Regions from separate parts of the Homo sapiens genome. Here region 2 is linked to region 1. Evidence: promoter capture Hi-C in 16 types of primary human blood cells and fetal thymus (Javierre and others, 2016). All regions are on one chromosome and are shown on one strand. Each heading gives the region's core, a stretch centred on a gene start or on the middle of the fragment in contact. The rest is flanking DNA. Distances are from core to core; before and after follow the strand shown. Region 1 holds the start of LINC03040 (long intergenic non-protein coding RNA 3040). Region 2 overlaps POLH (DNA polymerase eta).

Region 1 (4,803 bases), core at 1,947-4,446:
GGAGCTGATGGCCAAGCTACCCCTTTAATTCTGGCCTTCGGGCCTGGCTTCTATCTTCAGGGCCTCTCTCACCCTACCTGACATGGGAGGCCAGAGCCACCTCACTCCTCACCAGCTCCCCTATGGCGGCCACAGCTGGCCAGCAGGCGGGGCCTCCGTGTCTGTGGCGGGGATGTCACCTTTCTTCGCAGGAAGGTAATTTCCCCGCCAGGGGAGGGAGTCCGTCGTGCTGCTCATAAAGCCACTGTTAAACGAGCGGGTCTGGGAGTTCTGGCTGGGCGGACTTCCCTTCCCTTCTCCGTGCCTCAAGTGCCAAACGGGGGTACTGCTGCCCTGCGTGCCTTTGCCACTCCTCCCACTGAAGGCTAACTTTCCAATAGACCTCACTGTTTCTGTCAACGAAATAGGTCCCTGGCCCCTCCCCACTCTCCCAGTCTCTTCCAGCAGAGACCTTCCAGGACTGTAGGTTTAGGGGAGTGGAAGGGCCGGCTTCGGTCTCCCCAAGTTCTGCCCCCAGTGAGGCCTCATAGCTCTCCTGGGACTGAGGGGCAGTCCCAGAGGGCGGCAGGAGTTGGCAGCCAGTGGTCCTGGGGACCGCGAGGTGGGTGGGTGGAGGGTGGCGAAGGGAGGGTTCCGGGACCGGGGAGCGGCGTCTTAATTACGGCGCGTTGGCCCAGCGCCGCGGAGCGCCGCGGATGACAGCGGCGGTGGGTAATTAGAGCGCATTAGCCGTGCCCCTGCAATCCTGTAATTTCTTCTCGCGCTCGGGGTGTGTTGTAGGAGGCGAAGCGATGCCGGCTTGGCTGAGTCAGACTCTCGGAAGCCCAGGAGGGGACGCAGGGGGCGGCAGAGGCCGCGAAGAAGGGACTCCCGCCGGGGGAGGCGCAGACGCAGTCCTCTAGGAGTCACCTGTCCCGGGCTCCTCGGCGCGCGCGCCCCGTCGGCGGCGGGAGGTGGTGGGAAGGGGGCGTGACCTGCGTCTCCTCCCGCCGCCGCCGCCGCCGCCGCCGCCGCGCGCTCTACCGGCCCGCGAGTCCTCCGCGACATCCGGGCCAGCGTCTGCACCCAGCCACGTGTCCTGCCCCTGGTGCGCAGGTGGACTGGAAAAGAGGAAGGCAAACGCAGTGGCTAGGCGGAGACCTCCCAAATCCCACGTCTCCCCGAGAATCCCCGACGGGCTACAGACCTAGGGCAGCCATAAGAAAAAACGTCAGCTACATCTCGAGGGAGTGGGGTGGAGTGCGGGCGCTTGCTCTAGTCGAGCCCTGACATCGATTCTGCGGGGGCGGGGAGGAGTCGGCGCGGGGCTGGGGCTGGGAGGGGAGTTTATTTATTAGCCAGATTAGCCAGCATTAATGGGGGAGCGGTGGCGGCCGGCGGCAGCAGGGACATAGCTGGCATAGCTGGCATAGCGGCGGGGCCTCCTGCGGCGCGGGGCTCCGCGGCTTCAAAGGGGCTTAAAGAGGCCCTTGGTGGCACTGCCACGGCCCCGCGGGGGAGGGCGTGGGCGCGGGCGGCGGGGGAGAAGGCGGCCATTGTGCACCGAGGGATTAGGGCTCTGGCCTGGAAGGAATTTTAAACTGCCGCGAGCCGGAGCCCCAGGACTCTCCTCCTGCCCCACCCCTGCCCTCCGGAGCACGCTGAGGTGTTTACCTGCTTTCCTATGTCTGGGGTGGAGGGGGTGTCCTCTCTCCTCCCTCAAACTGGAGGCACCTAGGGTTACCAGATCTGGCAAATAAAAACACAAGACTTCCAGTTAAACTGGATACTTTAAATAGTGTAAGTCTGTCCCAAATATTGTATGGGACAGACTTATGCTAAAATATTATTCGTTGTTTATCTGATATTCAATTTAATTGGACGTCTTGTATTTTTTTTCCTGGCAGCCCTTGAGGCATTGAAATCTCTAATCCATGTCTGGAAACAGATTGATGGTTCCCGAAAGTCCAGTGGGTATGCCTCATTTGAGAGATCCCTAAGGGCAGGGTCGTGTCTCTCCCCTTACACTGGGAGTTTCCTGAAGCCCAGATACTGAGTTTCACCCTAAAGAAGGCAGCTCTGAGAGCACTATATGTGTCCCCCGTCAGACTGGGAGCTTCCTGAGGACAGGGGCTAAATTTCACCCATGAGAGTAACGCTTCAAGGTCAGTGTCTGTGACCTGTGACACTGGGGTTTCCTGAGGCATGGTCTGTCCGCTTCCTAGAGGGCAAGTCTCTCTCCTCCCTCACGTCTCACTCTCCCACCCCCACCCCACCCCAGGCTGCTGGAGGCTCCTCCTCCATTAGTGTTGCTTCCTGCCCATAGGGGGTGCTAGGGGCCCAGCGGACTGGCCTACGGATGGATGGGACCTGTTTATTGGGACTCGGGGCTTCAGTCCTTCGGGGTTGATGCACTTGAGAATAATGAGGGTGGGGTCCCCAACCTGTGAGGCTTGCTGAGGCAGTTGAGGGCCAGGTCTACTGGGGCCAGAGGCGGTGGCCAGCATGTGGGAGAAGCTCTGGGTGCTGGGTACCCACTGTTTCTTCCAGGAAGGGACAGTGTGGCCCTTGGTACAGAACATCCTGCCCACCTCCTCTCATAACCATTGAAGCCAAGCCCCAGTCCTCCACCAGCCTCTCCAGACCCCACTGCCTAACCTTTGCTTGTGCTGTTCTTTCTGCCAGAAACACTCTGTCTTCCTGCTTTGAGGACAGCTGAAGTCTTGCCACTTCTTCTGGATGCTCTGACCATCAGTAAGGTGGGCTGCTTGTGCCTGGGGGTCTTCTGGTGAAAAGAGCCCTCCATCTACTCCCTCCTTCCTCAACAACTTTGGCCACAGGGGCCAAAGAGGGGGCCAAGGTGGGGGAGGGGAGAGACAGGAACATTGGGGGAGCATAGGCAGAAGGGGAGTAAGAATAGGAACCTCCTTCCCCCCAACCCATCCCCCTGAAGCCCCTTCACAAGTCCCTTCATCCCCTCAGGGCCTCTGAACTCTTTCTCCTTGAAGCTGAGGGAAGCCCTGGAGAAGCGCTTTCCCACGGTCACAGCCTCAACAAACCCCTGCCCCCTTCTCCTTTGACTGCAGCCACCTCAGTCTCACCCTCCGCAGAATGCAGGCCCACTCCGTTGCTGAAGGGCCTCCTCCTTGGGCCAGGGCGCCTGCTTCTGCCAGTGGCATCATCACCCCACTCCTCAGCCGCCAGTCATCAGGTTGGCAATTAGCTACTTCCTCTCAGCTGCATGAGGCCACCAAACGTCACAGCCCCTCCCCTGGCCTGCCGCGGCGGGAGTGCTGGGGGCTGCCCCTACCCTTTGTAGTCAGTGCCAAGTCCTGGCTCAGTCCCCCTTCCCTACAACCTACTGAGTGCTAGGGTAATGAGCCTCCCATCTAGGGAGCTGAAAGCCTCGCTGCCTTCTCCCCGCTTCAAACCTCCTCCCCCATGTCACCCTATCCCATTGGGTGAGGACACTCCCGCTGCCTGGGTGGGGTGATGCCTGCTCAAGGGCACTAGCAGCCTGGGTGGGGCTTAAGACTCAGGTGTCTCTGTCCCCAGTCACAGGCGGTTTTCACCAGCCCCTTACCTGGGGCCCAGGAGTCTGAACTGAAGATGGTGGCAGTTATTTGGGAAGGGGAGAGAAATGGGGACTCATTCTACAGACCCCCAAACATGCAGGGGGCAGGCCCTTCATGAACACCCACATGGGCTCATTTGCCTGTGTCTAGGCACACACACGGTTACAATCTAGGCAATGTATGCTCCACTGCACTGTACCCACATGTGCCCCAGGTGGGCAAGTAAGCCCACTTGCCCAGATACCTCTCATGCCCACACATCCCTCCTCCAGGTGTGTGCATGCAAACTCACTGACATACAGTACTCAAAAAGGCAGTGAGCTTGCTGCCACACCAAAAACAAAACCGGGACCCTACAGAGGAATCTAGAAGCATGGGAGGGAAGGAGAGACCACCCCAACACTCGCTACCCCACAGACCAGGGAATCTTCCTGGGGAAGGATGGGAGGAAGTCTGCACTTCAGGGATATGTGTGGGGTACGCAGGTGGGCCGTGGTGGAAGCAGTTGTGTTGGAGTCTGGGTTGGGGGTGGAGGATGTGGATTTCCAGAGAGAATTGAAAAATTCCAACACATATAAACAAAGGCATGTGATCTTAGGCAGATCACTTAACTTCTTGGGGGCCCCAGTGACTGCATCTGTAAAATGGGAATAATGAGAACACCATTTAAACTTGGTTGTCAAATTTATTTTATTTTTATTTATTTATTTATTTTTAGAGACACGGTCTGACTTTGTTACCCCGGCTGGAGTGCAGTGGTGCAATCATGGCTCACTGCAGCCTTAACCTCCTGGGCTCAAGTGATCCTCTCGCCAAGGCTAGGATAAGTAGCTAGGACTACAGATGCGCCCCATCACGCCCAGCTAATTTTACAACTTCTGTAGAGATGGAGTGTTGCTGGGTTGCCCAGGCTGGTCTTGAATTCCTGGGCTCAAGCGATCCTCCTGTGTCCGGAATTGGTGGGTTCTTGGTCTCACTGACTTCAAGAATGAAGCCGCGGACCCTCGCGGTGAGTGTTACAGTTCTTAAAGACAGCGTGTCCAGAGTTTGTTCCTTCTGATGTTCAGATGTGTTCAGAGTTTCTTCCTTCTGGTGGGTTCGTGGTCTCGCTGGCTTAGGGGTGAAGCTGCAGACCTTCGCGGTGAGTGTTACAGTTCTTAGGGCGGCGCGTCTGGAGTTGTCTGTTCCTCCCGGTGGGCTCGTAGTCTCGCTGGCTTCAGGAGTGAAGCTGCAGACCTTCGCGGTGAGT
Region 2 (5,023 bases), core at 634-3,133, 390 kb after region 1:
TGATTCTCCTGCCTTAGCCTCCTGAGTAGCTGGGATTACAGGCGTGCACCACCACGCCTGGATAATTTTTTTTGTAATTTTAGTAGAGATGGGGTTTCACCATATTGGTCTGAAACTCCTGACCTCGTGATCTGCCCGCCTTGGCCTCCCAAAGTGCTGGCATTACAGGTATGAGCCACTGTGCCTGGCCCCTATTTTTTATTTTCTGAGATGAAGTCTCGCTCTGTTGCCCAGGCTGGAGCGCACTAGCATGATCTCAGCTCAATGCAACCTCCGCCTCCAAGGTTAAAGCAATTCTTCTGCCTCAGCCTCTAAGTAGCTGGGATCACAGGTGCCTGGAACGTGCCTGGCTAATTTTTCTATTTTTAGTAGAGATGGTTTTGCCATGTTGGCCAGGCTGGTCTCAAACTCCTGACCTCAGGTGATCTGTCTGCCTCGGCCTCCCAAAGTGTTAGGATTACAGGCGTGAGCCATTGTACCCGGCCGAGTTACATAATTTGAATACATTGTTATTAATCTGCAATAATCTGTAAGGTATTATCTCCATTTTACAGATGAGAATGTGAAGAAAATGACTTGTTCAAGGCCCTCATTGCAATAACCAGAGCTAAGTTTGCAACCACGTCTCTTAGACTCCAAGGCCCACACACTTTTTACTTTATGACACTGCCTCCCTAAATGCTAAAGATTAAAAACTCTGGTAGGATGAATTTTTACATCTCTGTCAGCAGTGGGATTAGAATCCATGCCTGTGAAGAGATGGGACCGTAACTCAGCACCTAAATGGATTATTTTTTGTATTAAAAATTTCATAATTCCCTTTCTCAGGGAAATCTGTAAAGATAAAATATTAAAGATAAAGATCTGTAAAGATAAAAAATATTAAATCCTACAGGCAAGCCTGAGGGCAGCACTAATGTGTTAATGGCTTAAAAAATGATTCCAATGTTTGCATGCCCTCAGGCCTGGGGCGTTTATTAGTGCAGGCCAAAGGGCTCTTGGGATTTCTTTTGCCTTGATGAGATACGGCAGAAACAACCTGGGGGTTTGAAGAGTGGGGCTGCAAAAAGGATTTCTGCAACTCCAATGCAAAATGATAGTCCATGTGTTCTGGCATATCCCATACCGGTACCAGGGAGCCACACTTCTCACAGGGCACTTGGTCCTCAGCAGCTAGAAGACTTGGATTTGGGGTTGCTTTCTGAGTCACCTCCAGCACAGATTTGGAAGCTGAAGAGGCGTGCATGCTTTGGCTGTTGTGGGCCAAATCCATCTCTGCAGGAGTTGCTTTAGAGGATTCTTCTAGCTTCGACACCCCTTCACAAACAGGGACACACCCTGGATACTCTGTTGGTAAAGAGTTTGGTAATGCTTTACAGTTGGACCATGGGTTTTGTTGGGGGGAAGAAACTGAAGAATTATTAAGCTGTTTCTGCTTTAGAAGCAGACTTTTCTGCTTAAAGAAGGGCTCAGTTCCTGTACTTTGACTGGTTTGAAAAGGTAATGAGGGCTTGGATGGTGAATTGCTCATGGGAGCCTGAGTGGGAGCAGTAAGAGATGAAAGCGAAGCTTCTTTAACTTTCTGCCTTTCTGCAGCTTTTTGGAAGAATGATTCCAGAGACGTGGTTGCTTTCTTAGTGGCTGTCACCGCTGGGCCACTTCCCTGGGTCTTAGCTTCTGAGCTGGTAACTGGCACCTTTGGCAGAGAACTTGGGTCACTGCTCAAGAAGCTGGTGATGTCTGTAGAAGATGAAGGGGCAGAGGCAGAAAATTTTGTAGCACAGAGGAAAAGCATTGTGAGAGGAGGAGACCTATACAGAAAGTAAAGAAATAAGATGATTAGCAATTTAGAAGATTAAAATAGTGACCTATTGCTAATTCCATGAATTGTATCTGTTTTATTTCACCATAGGACAGATTTAATCCATAGATGACTAGCATTCTGGTTCTGCCACAGAAATTATTCTTTACTGCAGTGGTTCTCAAACGTTAATGTGTATCAGAGATTAACAGACCTGGGATGACAGAGAATTTAATTTCCTAGGTGATGCTGATGTTATGTCTTGAGAACCACTAATTTAGCAACCACTCACCTCCCGACAGCTAGAGATTATTGTTTTTTATAAGGTACCACTGGAAAGCTGCTGTAATTCAGGGTTGGGGCAAGAAATTTTATTCAGGACAACAAAAAGCTTTAGAATATTTAGACTAGAAAGACTTGAAAAAATCCTCTTAGCCATTATCCTGTTTTTAAACAGGGCACTACCTAACCCTGACTGACTTACCACTCTGGAATTTCTAGAGAATGAAATTCCACAACTGCTTTTCGTTACTAGTCCCAATTTCAGAAACATTTTAAGAAATTCTTGTGATAGCCGGGAGCGGTGGCTCACACCTGTAATCCCAGCACTTTGGGAGGCTAAGGCGGGTGGGTCATGAGGTCAGGAGTATGAGACCAGCCTGACCAACATGGTGAAACCCCATCTCTACTAAAATACAAAAATTAGCTGGGTGTGGTGACACACGCCTGTAACCCAGCTACTTGGGAGGCTGAGGCAGAAGAATTGCTTGAACCCGGGAGGCAGAGGTTGCAGTGAGCGGAGATTGCGCCACTGCACTCCAGCCTGGGTGACAGAGCCAGACTCCCTCTCAAAAAAAAAAAAAAAAAAATCAGAAATTTTTGTCATAAAGTTCCTCATTGTGTCTAATCACTCAAATTTTCACATAAGCTGAATTTCAGAAGATGAAATATGCTTTTATGTACAGATTAGTCCTTCAATGAGGTAAAGGGTAAATGTCATTTTAAAGTTATTATTACACTATTGGCCGGGTGCAGTGGCTCACGCCTGTAATCCCAGCACTTTGGGAGGCCGAGGTGGGTGAAACACCTGAGGTCAGGAATTTGAGACCAGCCTGGCCAACATGGAGAAACCCTGTCTCTACTAAAAGTACAAAATTTAGCCGGGCGTGGTGGCGGGCACCTGTAATCCCAGCTACTCAGGAGGCTGAGGCAGGAGAATCGCTTGAACCCGGGAGGCAGAGGTTGCAGTGAGCCGAGATTGCGTCACTGCACTCCAGCCTAGACAACAAGAGCGAGATTCCGTCTCAAAAAAAAAAAAAAAAAGTATCCCAATATCCTCAGGTTTCATGCTTTGGGACAGTCTTATAATCAGATAATTTTGATGCTTCCCTGTGCATCACGGAGTTTCACACCGTTGGTGAGTAGTATTTGTTATAGTTTGTCAATTTATAACTTTTCAAATAAGGTTTCATGTGTACATTAGTACCACGGTTGTTATTTGGTTTTGTAAAACTTCAATATTTGAAAATAAATATATCAGGAAGTATTAAGTAAATTATTCTCAGAACAAAGACTTTATTTATTTATTTATTTATTTGTTGTTGTTGTTGTTGGAGACGGAATTTCGCTCTTGTTGCCCAGGCTGGAGTGCAATGGCGCAATCTCGGCTCACCGCAACCTCCACCTCCCAGGTTCAAGCAATTCTCCTGCCTCAGCCTCCCAAGTAGCTGGGATTATAGGCATCCACCACCATGCCTGGCTAATTTTTGTATTTTTAGTAGAGACAGGGTTTCACCATGTTGGCTGGGGTGCTCTTGAACTCCTGACCTCAGGTGATCTGCCTGCCTCGGCCTCCGAAAGTGCTGGGATTACAGCCGTGAGCCACCGCGCCCGGCCCTATGAACAAAGACTAGGAGACTCCACCATATTATAGGTCTGTACACATAATTATACTGCCAATATATTTAGATAAGTAATAAGCGATTAACTAAACTTTGATTTTATTTTGTATAATATTCAATATACATCTGTAAGTGAGCAACTGACTTACCTCTCTCTCATAATTATATTTCTATTGTGAATTTGGAATACTTTAAAAAAAGTAAGGGCTTTATTAAATATGCAATTAAAGGATTCCAATCCTGAAAATCATTAATATCTGGACAGAAAATGAAGATGCTCCAAAAAGAGGCTTATATTTCATGACCAACAGAAGTGAAGTTTACTAATGAATATGACATTTGGTATAATACCAGTGGAGCTTGTAACTGAGTTGGGATGTCAGATAGAGAATATCAGTGAACACAGGTCACCTTTATAATCAAGAAATATGCTTTTAAGATAGAACAATCAAGTAGTTTGAAGTTCCCAAATGTATCCTTGAAATTTGAGCTCTGTTCTCCAAGTGCAACTGGTCATTTCCCTGACCAAGCCAATACAGAGTAAGGGTCTAACCTCCTGGGAACTGGAATGTATCAGCTGTCGGCAAAGGATCTGTGCTGAGCTGTCTTGTTTCTGAGGTTGGTACTGTATTTTCTCCCAGAGTAACAGGTACTGGTAGTCTGAGTCAGAGTCTATCCCAGATGGAAGAGCTCAGATTCCTACTACTTGTAGAGCTAAGACAGAGATTCCTACTACTTGTAGAACTGAGACAGACCTCAGGTGATTCACCCACCTTGGCCTCCCAAAGTGCTGGGATTACAGGCGTGAGCCACTGCGCCCGGCCGATACTTTAATAATAACTTTAAAATGACATTTACCCTTTACCTCATTGAAGGACTAATCTGTACATAAAAGCATATTTCATCTTCTGAAATTCAGCTCATGTGAAAATTTGAGTGATTAGACACAATGAGGAACTTTATGATAAAAATTATGTCTTGTAGAGCTAAGACAGAGCTAAGAATCATCATCTATTCTGAGAAGATGAGCTAGAAAAGAACTCACCATTCTGTCTGGATTCCAGAAGTATTACAGTTCTTGATGACAGTAAATGCATCATGGCTCATCTTGTGAGCATCATAGCGGGTAAGGGCACAGCAGCGGCGCAGGCTGCTGAGGCGTTTGTCTCCTTGTACACGAATGCTCACAACCAGCTGGGTGGCTACCCTGTCATTCTGTGGGTGGAAAGGATGGAGACCAGAAATAAAGTTATGAGGAGCATCTGAATTCTAGGTACTGAACTGCAGGAGAGGAAATTAAAAGAACCAGGGTGACAATGGT

The links. Contacts are between HindIII fragments. The CHiCAGO score rates a contact against its expected background, and 5 or more counts as called.
Region 2: a fragment that was not itself captured here is called in contact with the fragment with the promoter of LINC03040 in region 1 in 1 of 17 cell types (erythroblasts); the score reaches 6.3 in erythroblasts.

Annotation. Positions count from the first base shown.
Region 1 is chr6:43,998,978-44,003,780 of GRCh38, reverse strand. It overlaps LINC03040 (long intergenic non-protein coding RNA 3040), which reads right to left and starts at 3,196. Exons shown (of 3, transcript NR_160956.1): 1 at 3,081-3,196; 2 at 1,654-1,728; 3 at 1-1,100. SCIRT (stem cell inhibitory RNA transcript) reads left to right here. Exons shown (of 5, transcript NR_125864.1): 2 at 2,665-2,738; 3 at 3,066-3,190; 4 at 4,273-4,563. It overlaps LOC124901321 (a long non-coding RNA gene), which reads right to left. Exons shown (of 2, transcript XR_007059591.1): 2 at 4,227-4,803. RefSeq lists a silencer at 848-1,017 and an enhancer at 2,940-3,089. The HindIII fragment of the contact is 11,725 bases long and covers 1-4,803 here.
Region 2 is chr6:43,610,448-43,615,470 of GRCh38, reverse strand. POLH (DNA polymerase eta) reads right to left here. Exons shown (of 11, transcript NM_006502.3): 10 at 4,748-4,917; 11 at 1-1,811. The coding sequence ends at 914. Among named protein-coding and RNA genes, the nearest start is that of GTPBP2, 16 kb to the left of the region's middle. RefSeq lists a silencer at 3,285-3,510. The HindIII fragment of the contact is 623 bases long and covers 1,572-2,194 here.